Regions from separate parts of the Homo sapiens genome. Here region 1 is linked to region 2. The links are contacts of gene promoters, found by promoter capture Hi-C in human tissues and cell types (Jung and others, 2019). All regions are on one chromosome and are shown on one strand. The core of a region is centred on a gene start or on the middle of the fragment in contact, and the rest is flanking DNA. Distances in the headings are between cores, read along the strand shown.

Region 1 (4,681 bases), core at 930-3,429, 430 kb after region 2:
AAACCCCGTTTCTACTAAAAATACAAAAATTAGCTGGGTGTTGTGGCTCACGCCTGTAATCCTGGCTACTCGGGAGGCTGAGGCAGGAGAATCACTTGAGCCCAGGAGGCGGAGGTTGCAGTGAGCAGAGATCGTGACATTGCCCTCCAGCCTGGGCGGCAAGAACAAAACTCTGTCTCAAAAGAAAAAAAAAAAAAAAAAGAAAACAGAAAATAACACTTACTTGGCTTTTATGAAATAAGATTCACTTTTTTAAAGTACGAATGTAAAATATACCTGTCTCATTTTACAAAGGAGCTTGTTGAGGCCCAAGGAGACTGAGTACCTGGCCCATGAGCCCACGGTCCAATCTGGCCAGATCTTCTAGCACCCCACTTCCAGGGAGAAACGCCAAGGATCAGAGAGGTCAAGTGTCTTGCTTGAGCCACCCGGCTGGGAAGTAGCAGGGCTGGCATTTGAATCTAGGCAGTTGCCCTAGAGGTTATACGCTGAGCCCCTACCCTCTACTCCCCAGACACCACTCTCAGAGCAGTGGGCAGGTTTTTGAAGATCTTTGCGCAGAGGCGTGGCCCAGCCTGGCTCAGCCTCCTCCAGGCAGTGTGGTTAAGGGAAGGGTATGGCCTGGAAGTCAGAAGCCTGGAGTCGTACCCAGCCTCTGCCCTGGACCGCCTGTGTGGTTCTGAGGAGTCATATCACCACTTTGCGCCTCCATTTTCTCCTCTGTAAAATGGGACTAGCAGCCCCTTCCTTGGAGCTGCTGTCTTGGGCTTCTGCAAGGATCCCACTGGAGAACAGATTTAAATTCTGTTGAGGACCCTGCTGACATGAGGCTGGGATGATCTTTCCCTGGATGAGGGAAGGATCCTAATCTTGTTTTTCTTTCTTTTTTTCTTTTCTCCATCTCCAAACCAGAGTCATGATGTTTGAAGGAAAAGCCAACGAGAGCAGCCCCAAGCCAGTTGGCCCCCCTCCAGAGAGAGACATTGCTAGCCTGCCCTGAGGACCCCGCCTGGACTCCCCAGCCTTCCCACCCCATACCTCCCTCCCGATCTTGCTGCCCTTCTTGACACACTGTGATCTCTCTCTCTCTCATTTGTTTGGTCATTGAGGGTTTGTTTGTGTTTTCATCAATGTCTTTGTAAAGCACAAATTATCTGCCTTAAAGGGGCTCTGGGTCGGGGAATCCTGAGCCTTGGGTCCCCTCCCTCTCTTCTTCCCTCCTTCCCCGCTCCCTGTGCAGAAGGGCTGACATCAAACCAAAAACTAGAGGGGGCAGGGCCAGGGCAGGGAGGCTTCCAGCCTGTGTTCCCCTCACTTGGAGGAACCAGCACTCTCCATCCTTTCAGAAAGTCTCCAAGCCAAGTTCAGGCTCACTGACCTGGCTCTGACGAGGACCCCAGGCCACTCTGAGAAGACCTTGGAGTAGGGACAAGGCTGCAGGGCCTCTTTCGGGTTTCCTTGGACAGTGCCATGGCTCCAGTGCTCTGGTGTCACCCAGGACACAGCCACTCGGGGCCCCGCTGCCCCAGCTGATCCCCACTCATTCCACACCTCTTCTCATCCTCAGTGATGTGAAGGTGGGAAGGAAAGGAGCTTGGCATTGGGAGCCCTTCAAGAAGGTACCAGAAGGAACCCTCCAGTCCTGCTCTCTGGCCACACCTGTGCAGGCAGCTGAGAGGCAGCGTGCAGCCCTACTGTCCCTTACTGGGGCAGCAGAGGGCTTCGGAGGCAGAAGTGAGGCCTGGGGTTTTGGGGGAAAGGTCAGCTCAGTGCTGTTCCACCTTTTAGGGAGGTTACTGAGGGGACCAGGATGGGAGAATGAGGAGTAAAATGCTCACGGCAAAGTCAGCAGCACTGGTAAGCCAAGACTGAGAAATACAAGGTTGCTTGTCTGACCCCAATCTGCTTGAAACCTGACTCTGCTTCTCTCATTTGTCTTCCTACCCTACTCACATAATTCACTCATTGACTCACTCATTCACCAGATATTTATTGACCTGCTATTATAAGCTTTACATCCTCCCATGTTGTCCTGGCATGTGCAGTATACACGGTCTAACTCATCTCTCCCCAGATCTCTCAGAACCTTGAGCTTGGGAATTGAACTGGGGTCACCTGTGTCCTTTCTTATGGACTCGCAGGATTTTAGAACCCTAATGCACCCTGGAGGGTAGCTGGGCCAGACTTCTCATTTCACAGGTGAGGAGACTGGTGCCCCACAGGGATTAAGTGCCTTGCCCAAGGTCAGGCTTATCTCCAGAGGGAGGTGCCCTGGACTGGGGCCCAGATGTTCAGGGACCCTGCCTACACCTCATTTCCAGTGTGGGCTGCCTTAGTTAGTTATGAGAACAGGGAAGGGCTGGGAAGAGACAGCCTCCAAGGTCAACACTTGGAGAGGGTTTCACTTGCTCTGAAGACCCTGGTCCAGGATTCGCCCTCTCCCATGCCTTCAAGTCAGCATCAGGCTTAGGGCAAAGACCAGGCCTCTGAAGCTGCCTCTTGTAATTCATGCAGGAAGATGTCAAAGTCAGCCCCATCTTGGCTGATCAGGGTGTTCAGCCTTAACCCCACCTGTGTTCTGAAGTCTCTTACCCTACCTGCTCAGGACTGAGACAGTTATTCACTGAACATATTTATTAAGCACTTGCTGTAGGCCAACAGTTAAGAATCCAATAATGAAATGGACAGATTCATGGAACTTAGAGTCCAATAGGAAAGTGAGACCCAGACAATGACAATGAGATAAATGTTAGGAAGGGGGAGGTATGGGGTGACTTCCCTGCAGTCCTGGGGGCCTAGATGGGCCCAAGACTGGGTGAGAGTCTTGGCAGAGCCTTTGCAACACCTTAAGTGGACAGGACTGGGAGGTCTTGGTGGTTGGAGCCAACGTGGGTTCCCTGCGGCTCCTTAGTCACCTCTGATAGCAGATTGAGGGAGGAAAACAGGTAAGGCATGAGGAAATGGCCAGGTTGGGTTAACCCACTGGTTTCAACCAGTTCAGGAATGAGGTTATTTGGCCATGACTGGCTGATCTTGAGCTCAAGGATCTGCTTCAAATGCACACAGGCCTAGTTGAAGTTTAAACCCCAGCAAAACATTCCTCCCTGTAAATGGAAAATCCTACTTCTACCCCCACCCTGCCCTGTTTTTTGTTTTTTTTTTCCCCAAGATCATTAGATGTCCTCACCCCTCCTCACTGCCTCTCCTCTCTGGGACAGGCTGGGACCTTTGAGGAAGATAAAGCCTTCCTTCACTACCCATCATATTCAGTGTCCCTGTTCCTCACTCAGAGAGGAAGGCAGAACCAGTCAGGCTTATTTCAGTAAGTTCCACAGTTCTACAAGACTGCAGGAATTCTCCTTAAGGGAGGAGAGCAAGCAGGTGTGGCCCCAGCTTCTGGAAATGGCAGAAGAGAGGGTTTTCTCATTGAATGGGGGTGGGGGCTCGTGTGTCCTGGGAAACCCCATCAGTCCCTTCATTTCTTGAGACTCAACTCCTGGGAGGAGAGGGTCTCAAGAGTTGTCCCTGGAAGGAGGGCGGGGGCAGTCTGCATCTATTTCAGGTTGTGGCTCTTGGTTCTAGGACTCTTACTTCTCTGGCTAAGGGCTCAGCTTCTTGGGACTTCAACCATCTTCTTTCTGAAAGACCAAATCTAATGTAACCAGTAACGTGAGGACTGCCAAGTATGGCTTTGTCCCTATGACTCAGAGGAGGGTTTGTCGGGCAAATTCAGGTGGATGAAGTATGTGTGTGCGTGTGCATGGGAGTGTGCGTGGACTGGGATATCATCTCTACAGCCTGCAAATAAACCAGACAAACTTACCAACGTCTTGATTGGTGTATTTTGGGGCTGGTTCTGGGCTCAGCAAATTGCGAACTAGCTAATATAGTAAGAGATTAAATGAGCATGTCCTGTGCCTTTTGTCTGAGACAGCTGAAATTCACTTATCCTAACCACCTCCCTGCAAGAGACAGGTTCTATTATGTCATCCTTGTTTCACAACTGAAAAGTAGGCTTGAATAAGCAATGTGCTGCAAGCCAAACAGTAAATGGCACAATCCGACCCCCCTGGAGCCAACCCATGAGGTCCAAGTTAAGAACCTCTGTCGGCCGGGCGCGGTGGCTCACGCCTGTAATCCCAGCACTTTGGGAGGCTGAGGTGGGCGGATCACGAGGTCAGGAGATGGAGACCATCCTGGCTAACACGGTGAAACCCCGTCTCTACTAAAAATACAAAAAATTAGCCGGGCGTGGTGGCGGCCGCCTGTAGTCCCAGCTACTTGGGAAGCTGAGGCAGGAGAATGCTGTGAACCCGGGAGGCAGAGCTTGCAGTGAGCCGAGATCGCGCCACTGCACTCCAGCATGAGTGACAGAGTGAGACTCCGTCTCAAAAAAAAAAAAGAACCTCTGTCCTAGAGCATTTATAATTCACTACAGAAATGTATTCTATGAAGGACTTTAATACCATCAGTCAGCCTTATCCAGACGATCTCAATTCTAATCCTGTCACCACCACTTTCTGACTGAGGGCTATTGGAGAATTTTCTCAACTTCTCTGTGCCTCCCTTACCTCATCAATTATTATTATGTATGTGTATGTGTGTGTGTGTATATATATATATATGTGTGTGTGTGTATATATATATGTGTGTGTGTGTGTGTATATATATATATATATAT
Region 2 (4,314 bases), core at 1,815-4,314:
CATCAGTGAATCTTAGACCTTTTCCGCCATTGAAATTACATAGGGAGTTAAAACACGCACAGACTTCTGGACCTTACCTTTGCAGAGCCTTGTGAAAGGCAAATAAATCTTGGGGCCCCAAAATCACTAAGCTAAAGGGAAAAGTAAGTCAAGCTGGGAACTGCTTAGGGCAAACCTGCCTCCCGTTCTATTCAAAGTCACCCCTCTGCTCACTGAGATAAATGCATACCTGATTGCCTCCTTTGGAGACGCTAATCAGAAACTAAAAATACAAAAAATGCAACCATTTGTTTCTTTTTTCTTTCTTTTTTTTTTTTTTTTTTTTTGAGACGGAGTCTCACTCTGTCGCCCAGGCTGGAGTACAGCGGTGCGATCTCGGCTCACTGCAAACTCCGCGTCCCGGGTTGAAGCCATTCTCCTGCCTCAGCCTCCCGAGTAACTGGGACTACAGGCACCAGCCACCATACCCGGCTAATTTTTTTTTTTTTTTTTTTTTTGTATTTTTAGTAGAGACGGGGTTTCACCGTGTTAGCCAGGGTAGTCTCGATCTCCTGACCTCGTGATCCGCCCACCTCGGCCTCCCAAAGTGCTGGGATTACAGGCGTGAGCCACCGCGCCTGGCCTCAACCATTTGTTTCTTATCTACCTATCACCAGGAAGCCCCTTCCCAGCTTCGAGTTGTCCAGCCTTTCCAGACCGAACCAATATTCATCTCACATATGTTGATTGATGCCTCATGTCTCCCCAAAATGTATAAAACCAAACTGCGCTCCGACCACCTTGGGCACAGGTTGTCAGGACCTCCTGAGCTTGTGCCACAGGCACATCCTCAATCTTGGTGAAATAAACTTTCTAAATTAACTGAGACCTGTCTCAGATATTCGGGGTTTACAGCCTCAATGCCTAAGGAATCTATACTTTTTACAAGCCCCCTGGGATGTGCTGCTTCGTCTCCGGGTACCCACTTGTCTACTGGTCGTAAAGGGGTAAGTGTGGCCGGGCTTGGTGGCTCATGCCTGTAATCCCAGCACTTTGGGAGGCCAAGGTGGGCGGATCACTTGAGTTTAGGAGTTCGAGATCAGGTTGGGCAACACGGTGAAACCCTGTCTTCACAAGACAAATACAAAAAATTAGCCGAGCCTGGTGGCATGTGCCTGTAGTCCAAGCTATTCAAGAGGCTGAGGTGGTAGGATTACCTGAGCCCAGGAGGACGAGGCTGCAGTAAGCCATAATCGTGTCATTGTACTCCAGCCTGGGTGACAAAGACTCTGTCTCGAAAAAAATAAAAATAAAAAAAGGTGCGTGTGATGATGCAGAAAGAGGAGCACTGGGGATGGGAGAGGGGGAGTCCCTGTCGTTTTGGATTCTAGTCCCAGTTACGGGTCTGTTTGGGGGGCTCGGTGGCCCCAAGTGATCATCAGGGATAGCAATGCCTATCTCGAAGATGGGCTGAAAGTGAGGAATACATAACATAGTATTTGTAAAGCACTCAGCAAAGGACCAGCCGAAGCACTCGGGCTATTTCTGGTAAAGGGTGCAGGCTCTGGGGTAAATCGCGTGCAGTTGGAACACACATCGGCTTTGCAGCCATCTGCTAATGTGAATTCCATTCCTTTTGGGGCCTCGATTTCCTCCTCCATAAACTGGTATCCACAATGCCAACCTTGTGAACGCTGTGAGAATGCGCGGGGTAAAGGCGACGTCTCTCCCTCCCGGGAAGAACTTGGATGGTGTCAGGCCTACACTCTCGCTCCGCCTAGGGCCGCTCGCTGGGCCTGGCTCCCCGGCTGCCGGGCTACGCGAGCTCAGAGGACACCATCGCCCTCTTATGGCCGCGGCAGGACTGGACCGAGGGGCTGGGCTCTAGTGCCTTCCTCCAGGCACGGCAGAGGGCGAGGGTCTGGCAGCCCGCTTACCCAGGGCCTCGGGGCACTAGCATTCATGTCATCGACTGCCTGGCAGGGCTGGCTTTCTTAAGTGTGGTCGTGAGACTTGCTTAAGTGGAAGAAATGCTGTCGCTTTGGAGATTTATAAAACAATTGGCTCGATGGATCTTTCTTCAGGAGGCGGACTTGGTTTACCGGCTTTACTGACCACAGCTGATGCCAATGATTTCATTTAATCGTCTTTAGAGTCCCTGTGCATGGGGAGTTACCATCCCCAATTAGTTTCTTGTGAATGCAGGGCAAGGAGAGGGAGAGGGTAGTGGGGGACGGGGAGAAGGGGCGAGGGGTACCCTCCTATTAAAACGGAGCCGCAGAAAAACCCACAGAGACATCCGTCTGTTCCCCGCTGAGTCCTTAGAACAGCGCCTGGCACACAGAGAGCGCTCAACTCGCTGTGTAACTAAATGCAAGCCAAGATCTTCGCATTGTGTGTGCTCTTCCCTTCCCTACCAAATATACCTGGCTTGCAAGGTTTGACCTGTTTTCTTAGACGATTTTTAACTTGTTTCCAAAAGAAATATTGGAGTAAATTAGCTTGTTCAAAGGAGTCCTTATGAAAGGACAGAACCAAGTGAGAAGTATCTGGAGCCCGGTTTGGGGTTATAGATGATGATGTTGAGCCAGCACCCACGGGGCGGCCGCAATGTAGAATCCTGGCGCTACTGGGAACCGTGTGGAAAGGGGCTCTTCTTTCTGTTCAAATAGTGTTTTCTGTAGATCCCATCTCTCCATCCTCCTGAGCTCTCTCTTACAAAATATCGGATTTCAGCAGCTTAGAATTGGACAGAAACTCAGAGGTCCGTTTCTCAATTATCTCTAACCCTGGTAAACAATAAATGGGATGATGAGTACAAGACAGTTTTGGTAAAAAGTCACACGCCACACAACGTGAGATTTTATTATTCCACGGGTGCTTCCTTGCCAATAGTAGACATGGCAGCTCGGCTCCCTTCCCTTCGGGTTCGCCTTATTGTTGCCAATTGTAAACATGGCCTCTAGGCCGTGAGTTCTCATTGGCAGCTGCTCTGAGTCCCCGCCCTTCCCCGCCCCTCCGAACGCGGCCTGGAGTTGTGGAGTCGGATATCGCAGCTCCCGACTGAGCTGCGCCTGCGCAACTCATTGGCGCCAAGATGGCGATGGAGATGAGGCTTCCAGTGGCTCGCAAGCCTCTTAGCGAGAGACTGGGCCGCGACACTAAGAAACATCTAGTGGTGCCGGGGGATACAATCACTACGGACACAGGATTCATGCGGTACGTGGGGACTTGGGGGAGTCGAGGCTTCAGAGAGCGGCTTCAGGGCTCTCTGCACGTGGTCCAGGCCTCGTATCCCTGTGTGTGTAACTCCCCGCGGGACCCAGGGCACTTCGTCTGAGCATCCTACACACCTCGCTTCCGAGCCTCGTGCTTCTTGCTCCCTGCATCTTGTGTGTCCCCGTCTGCATTTGTCTCAGCTCCCTGAAACCCTCCACTCCTGACCTCCGGTGGCTGTGACTTTTGGGTCTTCTGCCTGAAGTCCAAATCTTTGATCCTTCCTTGTGGGAGACCTGGAAAGCTGGGGAGGGTTAGGTGCAGGCTCTTTTCCAGTTTTCAGCTCTCTGAGGGGACGGTGGGCGTTCTTGGCTGCCTCCTCTTCAGTTTAGAATCCGTAATTGTTCGATCTTAGGGCAAACAGTTACATTGTGCTGCATGCACCCATTTATACACATTTTGAATCTAAGGGGTGTAGTGCAGTGTATTGTGGTTAAGAGGGAAGGCTCTTGAGTCAGACAGTTGGGGTTCCGGTCCTGCTACCATCACATCTTATTAGCGGCATTGCCTCTCCACGGTCAGTTTCCTCATCTGTAAGATAGTGATAATAACAGTATGATACGGTAATGAGGATTAAATGAGACAATTATGTAAGAAAAGAAGTAAAACCAGCCATTATATCATCATAGATAACACTAGTGTTTCAACCTTTATTATTATTATTTTTTTACTTGTATATGTACAAGGGGCACAGCATTCATAGCATTGCCCTTTAACCTGTTAGTTTAAGGTTAGTGGATACCAGGAAATTTTTTTTTCTTTTTTGAGACGGAGTCTGTCTTAGATCAGTCGTGCGATCTCGGCTCACTGCAACCTCTGCCTCCTGGGTTCAAGTGATTCTCCTGCCTCAGCCTCCTGAGTAGCTGGGATTACAGGTGCACGCCACCATGCCTAGCTAATTTTTGGTTTTTTTTTTTTTTAGTAGAGACAGGGTTTCACTGTGTTGGCCAGGCTGGTCTCGATCCCCTGACCTCAAGTGTGATCTGCCCGCCTCGGCCTCCCAAAGTGCTGGGATTACAGGCATGAGCCACCATGCCTGGCCCCTAGGAAATCTTAAGA

Evidence for each region. Contacts are between HindIII fragments. The study calls those that stand out against the background at their distance.
Region 1: a contact is called between a fragment that was not itself captured here and the fragment with the promoter of EXOSC2 in region 2, in 1 of the 25 tissues and cell types used here (hippocampus).

The regions. Positions count from the first base shown.
Region 1 is chr9:131,119,323-131,124,003 of GRCh38, forward strand. It overlaps AIF1L (allograft inflammatory factor 1 like), which reads left to right. Exons shown (of 6, transcript NM_031426.4): 6 at 913-3,822. The coding sequence ends at 1,000. Among named protein-coding and RNA genes, the nearest start is that of NUP214, 3.9 kb to the right of the region's middle. The HindIII fragment of the contact is 3,884 bases long and covers 238-4,121 here.
Region 2 is chr9:130,690,716-130,695,029 of GRCh38, forward strand. EXOSC2 (exosome component 2) reads left to right here and starts at 3,065. Exons shown (of 9, transcript NM_014285.7): 1 at 3,065-3,198. The coding sequence starts at 3,077. RefSeq lists an enhancer at 3,128-3,317. The HindIII fragment of the contact is 7,301 bases long and covers 1-4,314 here.